Regions from separate parts of the Homo sapiens genome. Here region 2 is linked to region 1. Evidence: promoter capture Hi-C in 16 types of primary human blood cells and fetal thymus (Javierre and others, 2016). All regions are on one chromosome and are shown on one strand. The core of a region is centred on a gene start or on the middle of the fragment in contact, and the rest is flanking DNA. Distances in the headings are between cores, read along the strand shown.

Region 1 (4,604 bases), core at 1,392-3,891:
CATAAGTCCCCCCACCCAACTCCCTCTGTCTCTTAATTGGCTCTCTCTCTCACACACACATACACACACACACACACACACACACACACACACAAACAAACACACGCTGTTAGCAAATCTGTCCTGACAACATCATACAGTCATCCCTCAGTATCCTCAGAGAATTGGTTTCAGGACCCCCTTGGATACCAAAATCAAAGGATGCTCAAGTCCCTATAAAATAGCATGGTATTTGCATATAACCTACTCACATCCTCCCACATACATTAATCATTTTCAGATTATTTATAATACCTAATACACTGTAAATGCGACGTAAACAGTTGATTATACTGTATTATTTAGGGAATGGTGACAAGAAAAAGTCTGTACATGTTCAGTACAGACTCAGCTATCTATTATTTTTTCCAATAGTTTCAATCCAAGATTGACTGAAGGCGTGGATATGGAACCCATGAATAGGGAGGGCAGACTGTATTAGGTGCACATTCATGAGAATAATCAACAGCTCCCCAGATACACAGGACAAACTCAATTCTTCAATAACTGAAGAGGCACAAGTGAGTATTTGTGTGTATTCTTATATGCTCAAGAGAATTCCCAAAGATTTGCCTAGATCTTTCTTGGAAAATCGACTTGGCCTCTGCTGGGATTACTCAACCGCACTTGGAAAAGGGTACCCCAGTGTTAGCAGCTACTGGCTCCATGTTTGGAAAGCAAGTCCTTTCATGGAGTTCAGCTGTTCCTCAGGCATCCAGTAAAGCTGGTTGTGCAAAGGCAGAAAATGTGACAACTGTTGGAAGCCTTCAGCAGCAGCCAATGGGAACAGCCACTGCATCAACAGTTAAAGCAGCCTATTATCCAGTTCACACAAAACACCCACCAGCTACATGGCACCATTAACTCAATATCACCATTCTTATCAAGTTCATGACACACTGGCCATGCTGCCTTGCCACCAACTTTAGAAACCACAAATAACTTCACAAACCATCAAAATACACATGCACAGGGGGAAAGAGAAAGAAGAAAAAAACAACCTTTCTGAGTTCAGAGCACCACGTTCAAAGATTACCTAATAGGCAAACCATGGCATTTCAATATTGCCAGCAAACATCTCTCTCACTTCAGTGGTGAAGTCTCCAAGACATTTCAGATTTGAGGCGTTTGAGAAAGAGGGTCTCAGAGCCTTGGAGACCATGTCAAATGCTTCTAAAAAAGGAAGGGTCTGTGTGCATTTTCCCAATGAAGAATCTGTCCAAAAAGGTTTTGGAAAACGCTTTAATATACTTTGGTTCCAAAACATTACACACTATTTCTCCAACAAATTTATATGTGTTTCCAGAGAACTTCCGAACTGAAAAACACAAATGTATTTAGGTGGAAGAATGTCTGGAGATTCTTTTATGCCAATATGTTAACGGACCTTCTTTTTTAATTGTTACTATTTCATACGGCAGCAGTAATCATTCCCTCATCCTCGAAGGAAATATATAATCCAGCTGTGGTGGCTCCAGTAAAAATACCACATCTGTGGATCATTGGCAACACTGTGTTAAGATTGCTCAAATCTAGGCAGTCTCAGAGAGTTCTTTTTTAAACCCAAGATGCACATGGGTACACTTTTCTGAAAGTGCCTACGAACTTTGCCAAAACTGACTACTCCTTTGTAGGCTGAAAATAGGTTTTCAGATACTCCACACCATAAGAAGGAGGCTCTCATGGAATATTATAACCAGGACCCAGTTGTATGAAGTCCCCAGACCTCCAGGGTGGTGGCTTGTGCCAGTGCCCTTGTCAATATCAAACAGAGAAGGGAAAACTAACATTCCCGGTTTCTGGGAGGAGGTTCTACCGCGTGGCTGGCTGAGTCGCTGACTCCTGGTTTTCCACTTAACAGGAGGACAGCTTCCGCAGAGAGGATGGCAGCCACCGTTCAGGTCACCCTTCTCTTGGTTCTCCAGGCTATGAAGCCAACGTATGCCTGAGCATTCGGTCATAATATTCCTGGAGTCGTCCCCCCACCCCAAGCCTCTGTTTAGTCCTTCCCCAAAGCCCAGCAGCAAGCATCTTTTTTTAAGCCAATCTTCCACATTCAAATCCTCAGTCCAAAGCGCGCCCTTGGGGGTCTCCATCTATAGACATAGAAAAGAAAAGGCAGCCTAGCTGAGCCCTGACAGAGTTTTAGCCCCTGGAACATATGACCTGCGGCTACTGTGCTGGCATGCCGCTTGCCCCGAAACCCTCGGGGGCCCCCTTCCACCCCAGACAATAGAGCAAGAAAATAAAATGAAAGTGGACTTACTGCTATGGCTTGCAGCCTTTCCTTGTGCAATTCCGCCTCTGCCATCCTGGAGAAGGGCACACAGGCAGGGGAAAGAGGAAAGAAAAAACACACGCTGTAGTCACCCAAGGAAACTGATGGGCACCCCGGGGGGCTTTGCTAGAACCCGGGAGAACGCCCAGGGACGGCTGGGGATCCGCTCCAGGGGCGGCGGGCAGAGCTGTGCGCACGGCGGGCTCGCCCGGGCTCAGCCTCTGGCCCCCGCCCTCCCGGCCGCCTGGCTGCGCCCCAGCGCCGCCGCTCACTGCATCTCCCGGTCGCCGCCGCCGCCGGCCGCGCCAGCCGAGGACGTGGGACGCCGGCAGCCGCCGGGAGGGCGCGCTAGCCCGGCGCTAGTTCTCCGCCCTGACGTCTCGGTGCCTCGCTCCGCCCCTGGAGTGTGATGGACCCGAGGCCGCGGTCCAAGGCGGCTCCGAGCGATCGCCGCCGCGGGTCTCCAAGGCGCAGACGGAGGGCGCGCGAGCCAGTGGGCACCTGGGGCGCGGGCGCACGGCGAGCCGCTGGGGCGCACGGCTGGCGTGGCGCGCCCGCGTGGACACGCGCTTGCTGGGGCGGAGGCAGAGCGCAGTGGCGCCTCCACCGGGCAGATGCCAGTGGAGAGGGGCGTCTGACCGAATGTGGGACCCGAGCACGTGCTGTTACGTGGGGGCTGGGGCCACCGAGTGTTCAGGGCACCTTCTGGCTCAAGCCAGACGCTTGAGCTCCACGTGGGGACATTTACAATTTGGGAAGGGCTGCCTTGCCCAAGTGGCCCACATGCTTAAGATGACCAAGTTCTCAATATCAAGTCGGCCGAGGGTAGGGTATATCTCCAGAGAGGCCACCCTTCTGGTGAGGCGATATGTGGCCTTAAAAGAAGCCGAGAGTTTTTAGTCCTGGGTGCTAGACTAGATTTCACAATGTGTTAGCTGTGAAATCTCAGGCAACTCGCTTAATCACTCTGAACCTCAGTTTCCTCATCTGAAAAAATGGAGGATCACATAGGTGTCATTAGAGACGAATGAGAGACAGTATGTAAAGGTGCTTTGTAAAGGGCATCACAGACATCTGCTCTTATTATCCTGTGACATTCTGGATTGAAATCCTTTCAGGGTCTTCTGTTCATTGCATCTGAAAGGAAAAGTAGGATCTACTCACTAAAATATTTCACCTATTCTTTACTAAAACAGGATACCATGTGGTACTAATGTGAGTCTTTTGTGACAGGTCCTGGACTGGATGTAAGAAGTGGATCAGGCCCAGTCCAAAAGGAGATCAATGCCAAAAGCAAAAAAAAATGCCTCTTCACATTGAGGCAGGACCTGCTAGAATTCCCAACATTCATATGCAAACGTTTCTTCATCAAATGAAATAAACACTGAAATAACTAATATGGCCTCTTTAGAGCCATAGGATTTAAAGGCATGTTAAAAGATATACACATCAGGCCAGATGCGGTGGCTCACACCTGTAATCCCAGCACTTTGGGAGGCCAAGGCGGGTGGATCACCTAAGGTCAGGAGTTCGAGACCAGCCTGGCCAACATGGTGAAACCCCTTCTCTACTAAAAATACAAAAAATTAGCCGGGCGTGGTGGCAGGCACCTGTAATCCCAGCTACTTGGGAAGCCGAGGCAGGAGAATCACTGGAACCTGGGAGGCAGAGGTTGCAGTGAGCCGAGATCACATCATTGCACTCCAGCCTGGGCAACAAGAGTGAAACTCTGTCTCAAAAAAAAAAAAAAAAATGCACATCAAATTTTCCCAGATCACCTGTTTCCTGAATAAATGCTTCCATTTCAACTAAATTGCCCTTTCAATTTTCACAGAGGTTCACCTGTCACTGATGAACAATTACTCCTCTGACCAAAGATGGAAGCACTCACCAAAATCGTTTACTGATGGATTGTTTTCCCATCTTTTTCATAACAAGTGTAGGTGGAGCTGATTGTTTAATAAATCCAAGCCAGTGCCAGATTCTACATCCCACTCCAATATATCAGAAACTTCTACTTTCTGGCTAAGCCCATCCTTTTCTTCAAATGCATCCTTTTTTCTTCATTTCCAGCACAAGCCCCAGCAGGACAAGTTATTTAAAGGGGTTTGCTCACAAATAAACAAAGCTGTTATTGCTTCAGCAGAGTGATTGTAGAGAATACTAAGATGAGGAAAATGAGACCAGAGAGGTTGAAAGACTCAGCTACAGTTATAGAGCTGGGATTTAAACTCAGATCACACTCACCAGAGCCCATGCTCTTAACCATTAAGCACCAGGCTTGGCC
Region 2 (4,303 bases), core at 1,012-3,511, 420 kb before region 1:
GAATAATCTTTTCCACTGGTGAGAATATGTGAACCCACATGTGTGTGAGTCTGTGTGTGCTCTTGTTCCTTGCCTTTCTTTTAGCCCCAAACGCTAGTTCCCTATCTCCTCCCAGAGTTTACTCCTCCACTTCAGTGTTTGACCCTCTATTATGCTTGAGATTTTCCATTGCATTGATTGCCACCCGAAATTTTATTATAAATATGCAATTTTGTCTCTACTCAACCAGGACACACCCCGGAAGGTGTGGGTTTTGTCTCAATGTTCATTGCTGTATTCCCAGGACCTAGAATAAATAATGCCTGGCACATATTAAGTGCTCAATAAATATGTGTTGAATGAATGAATAATTGTGTGTGTGTGAGTATATATGGGTGAGGTGTAAAAGGGCATGTGTGTGAGCATGCAAGTGAGATCTTGTGTGTGTACACATGTACACACATGAAATGTACCAGGAACCTTCTGGGGATGGCCTTCCTTCAGCTTGAAAGCAATGAGACCCCCTAAGTGAGAGCCGCCCCTGTCCCTTCCAGTGATGACCCTGCTGGTGCATTCTCTTTTCAGGAGGAAACACACCTGCTCCTGCAGAATCGATGGTCAATGCTGTTTGGATTAACAAGGAGAGAAGAAGCTCACTGTCCCTGGAAGAGGCAGATTCTGAGGTGGAGGGGAGGCTGGAGGAGGCTGCCCAGGGCTGCCTTCAGGCCCCCAAGTCTCCATGGCACACGCACCTGGAGATGCATTGTTTGGTCCAAACCTCCCCCCAGGACACCAGTCATCAAGTACATCATAGGGGCAAGCTTGTGGGATCTGATCAAAGGCTCCCTCCTGAAGGAGACACACACTTGTTTGAAACCAATCAGATGACTCAGCAAGGAACCGGAATCCCAGAGGCTGCCCAGCTTCCATGCCAGGTGGGCAATACCCAAACAAAGGCAGTGGAATCTGGCTTAAAATTCAGCACTCAATGTCCTCTTTCCATAAAGAACCCACACAGGTCTGGCAAACCAGCTTACTATCCATTTCCCCAGAGGAAAACACCCAGGATCTCCCAAGCTGCCCGGAACCTGGGCTTATATGGCTCAGCGTGAAGCTTTCTATTCTGCCAGATGTCTTGACCTTGAGGCCACCTATGGCCTTATAGAAGAACCAAGGAGGCAGAGCCACAACGAGGTCTCTAGCTATGAGCAAGAACTGGACTAACCTAATTATAGGAATTGTGGGAGACGAACTTCACAATGGTAACATGGTTTTACCCTTCCAATAAGAAGAGACTTCCCAGGCCAAATTGCCCACAGTTTAGGATGAAGAGGACTGTCTGGTCAGTGCAGCCCCATTCTGACATTACTATGAGGTCCTGGATATCCATTCCTTGGGGAGGACCAGTAAGACATCTGCTCCATCCCTGGAACTGGATAATTTTGGAACATAAACCAGGGACCTAGCCAACAGAATGCCTTAGCAATGCCCAGGGGTCAATGGGCGTGGCATTCTTGTTTTCAATGTCTTCTGATGATTTCTCATATATTCTGGAGAAGACAAGCTCTGAGAATTCAGATGCTTTTTCTGGTGGCTATGTCTGGGGGGCCATCTCACTTAGAAGTCACAACACTCATTGGCAGTGATCACATCATTTCAATTTGGGCTTCCCAAAGTATGGTCACCCAGGGTATGAAGGTGAGATCAATGCTACCTACCATTTTGTGTCTTTAAGGGGTCTTTAGAAAGGGCTAATCATCTGTCACTGCTCACTGAGACATGTACATTCCAGCATCATCACAGAGTTATCTCCTTCCTTCCTTCCTTCCTTCCTTCCTTCCTTCCTTCTGTCTCTCCCTCCCTCCCTCCCTTCCTCCCTTCTTTCCTTCTTTCTTTCCTCTCTTCCTTCTTGCCTTCTTTCCTGCCTTCCTGCCTATCTTTTCTCTCTCTCTCTCTCTGCAAATTAAGTTCTTATTAAAAACTGCCAATCATTGACGATATATAATGATGAGATCCTGAACAAAAGAGGCAAAGAAATGCTCCTACTTGAAAAATACACATTCCCTATAGACTGCCTCCTGTTTAGTCCAACTTAGATCACTCAGATCCTTCCTGGGATCAAATATATTTTTAAACCTAAGACAAAGCGAAGCAGGTGTCACTTGGGTGATAGGGAAAAAAGCTTGTATTTCCTGGTTAATGTTTAGCTTTTGTAATGCTATTTAAACACACCTAAGGTGCCTTTCCCTCATCTCAGGTGCTTTCTCTGTAAAGTTTCACTCCCACCTTTCTTTTCTCTGCATGGCCGTCCAGTCTTGCCCATCTACATCCAGAGCTGTTAACTAGTAGTGTCATTACCTGTGAAAAACATGTAGAAGCTTCCTTGAACCACCCAGAAATCCACTCAAATTTGGGGATTGTCATTCCTTTTGTGAATAATTAATACAATTCAGTTGTTTTTTAAATATTCTAATAAAAAAGGAAATTTTCTCAAAAAAATTTGTCCTTTGCTTTTGTTTTTAAAGAAGTGTCCCACAAGTAACGTATCTTTCTATAGGTTTGCTTTTGTTTCCTGTTTTTGGAGATGGAGTCTTGCTCTGTTACCCAGGCTGGAGTGCAGTGGTGCAATCCCGGCTCACTGCAACCTCTGCCTCCCAGGTTCAAGCCATTCTCTTGCCTCAGCCTCCCAAGTAGCTGGGATTATGGGCGTGTACCACTACCCCAGTTAATTTTTTGTATTTTTAGTAGAAACGGGGTTTCACCATGTTGGCCAGGCTGGTCTCGGACTCCTGACCTCGGGTGATCTGCCTGCCTTGGCCTCCCAAAGTGCTGGGATTACAGGTGTGAGCCACCACACCCAGCCAATAATTACATCTTTTTTTTTTTTTTTTTTTGAGATGGAGTCTTGCTCTGCCTCTCAGGCTGGAGTACAGTGGCACAATCTCAGCTCACTGCAACCTCCACCACCCAGCTTTAAGCGATTCTCCCACCTCAGCCTCCCCGGTAGCTGGGGTTACAGGTGTGCACCATCATGCCTGGCTAATTTTTGTGGTTTTTTTGTAGAGACAGGGTTTCACCATGTTGCCTGCCTTGGCCTCCCAAAGTGCTGGGATTACAGGTGTGAGCCACCACACCCGGCCCTTTTTTTTTTTTTTTTTTTTTTTTTGAGACAGAGTTTTGCTCTTGTTGCCCAGGCTGGAGTGTAACAGTGTGATCTCAGCTCACCGCAACCTCTGCCTCCCAGGTTCAAGTGATTCTCCTGCCTGAGCCTACCGAGTAGCTGGGATTACAGGCATGCGCCACCACGCCCGGCTAATTTTGTATTTTTAGTAGAGATGGGGTTTCTCCATGTTGGCCAGGCTGGCCTCAAACTCCCGACCTCAGGTGATCCGCTTTCCTCGGCCTCCCAAGATGCTGGGATTACAGGCATAAGCCACCGCACCCAACAAAATATAACCCCTCCACGACCGTGGCAGAACTCAAACCTGCAATCTTTTGATCCGAAGTCAGACGCCTTATCCATTAGGCCACACGGCCAGCTGGTTGGCCAAGTCTTTGTTCAAAATGCCAAGAGCCTGGATGGCCTCCACCGATAACATTAGCAGAAAGTTTTCCTCTTCTCTTCCTAAGATAGAGAAAAACCAGCTCACATTGTAAATCCTGCATCAGGCAGGCCACCTTTACCTAGGGTTCCCCAGGCTTCCACTTCCCAGTGTGGACTCCCCATGTGGCTGCCTGGCACACACCATGCCTCAGTCTCCCCTGGCAGAGGAGGACGGATCAGGCTCTAGTCTGGGCACTGCCATTGGTAGAGGTGTGACCTTTGTTGGGTGAATTAAAGCCAGAGATTTCAGAGCCAAATCTCAGAGCCACAGATTTCCCAGTTTAACTGAAGGCGATAATCTTCCCTGGGGTGGTGAGGGACGCAGAGGAGAGACGTTTTCCCTAAGCTAGGAACAGAAAAGTTCTTTTCCAAGAACCAATTCAGCTGGATCGAACAGCCTCTTCCCCACTAGGGGACAGGCTGCCCTCACACTATCTCAGTCAGATTCCCTAACTTTTCAGTCACTTCCTGACATTAAAGCCATTCATTTCAGTTGTTAAAGCTTGGAACTGTTCAAATGTTAAAGTTCATCTCATAGTCAAGTCAGAGTCTACCAGGCTCCACCTCCTCCCAGCACAGCCTTGATTGATGCCTTTAAGGCTGGAGGGAGAGGCTCATTCCCGCACCCTTCTGTCTGTGTTTACACAGATTTTTGACAACGGGGTAGGAAGGATGGAGAGGAAGCACAGATAGCTCTTTATGTGACTGGCTATGGTGTAG

The links. Contacts are between HindIII fragments. The CHiCAGO score rates a contact against its expected background, and 5 or more counts as called.
Region 2: a contact is called between a fragment that was not itself captured here and the fragment with the promoter of PALM2AKAP2 in region 1, in 1 of 17 cell types (total B cells). The highest score is 5.4, in total B cells.

Annotation. Positions count from the first base shown.
Region 1 is chr9:109,778,235-109,782,838 of GRCh38, reverse strand. It overlaps PALM2AKAP2 (PALM2 and AKAP2 fusion), which reads right to left and starts at 2,641. Exons shown (of 11, transcript NM_007203.5): 1 at 2,306-2,641. The coding sequence starts at 2,350. The HindIII fragment of the contact is 7,761 bases long and covers 1-4,604 here.
Region 2 is chr9:110,197,736-110,202,038 of GRCh38, reverse strand. C9orf152 (chromosome 9 open reading frame 152) reads left to right here. Exons shown (of 2, transcript NM_001012993.3): 2 at 565-2,478. The coding sequence ends at 1,091. Among named protein-coding and RNA genes, the nearest start is that of C9orf152, 8.3 kb to the left of the region's middle. The HindIII fragment of the contact is 196 bases long and covers 2,164-2,359 here.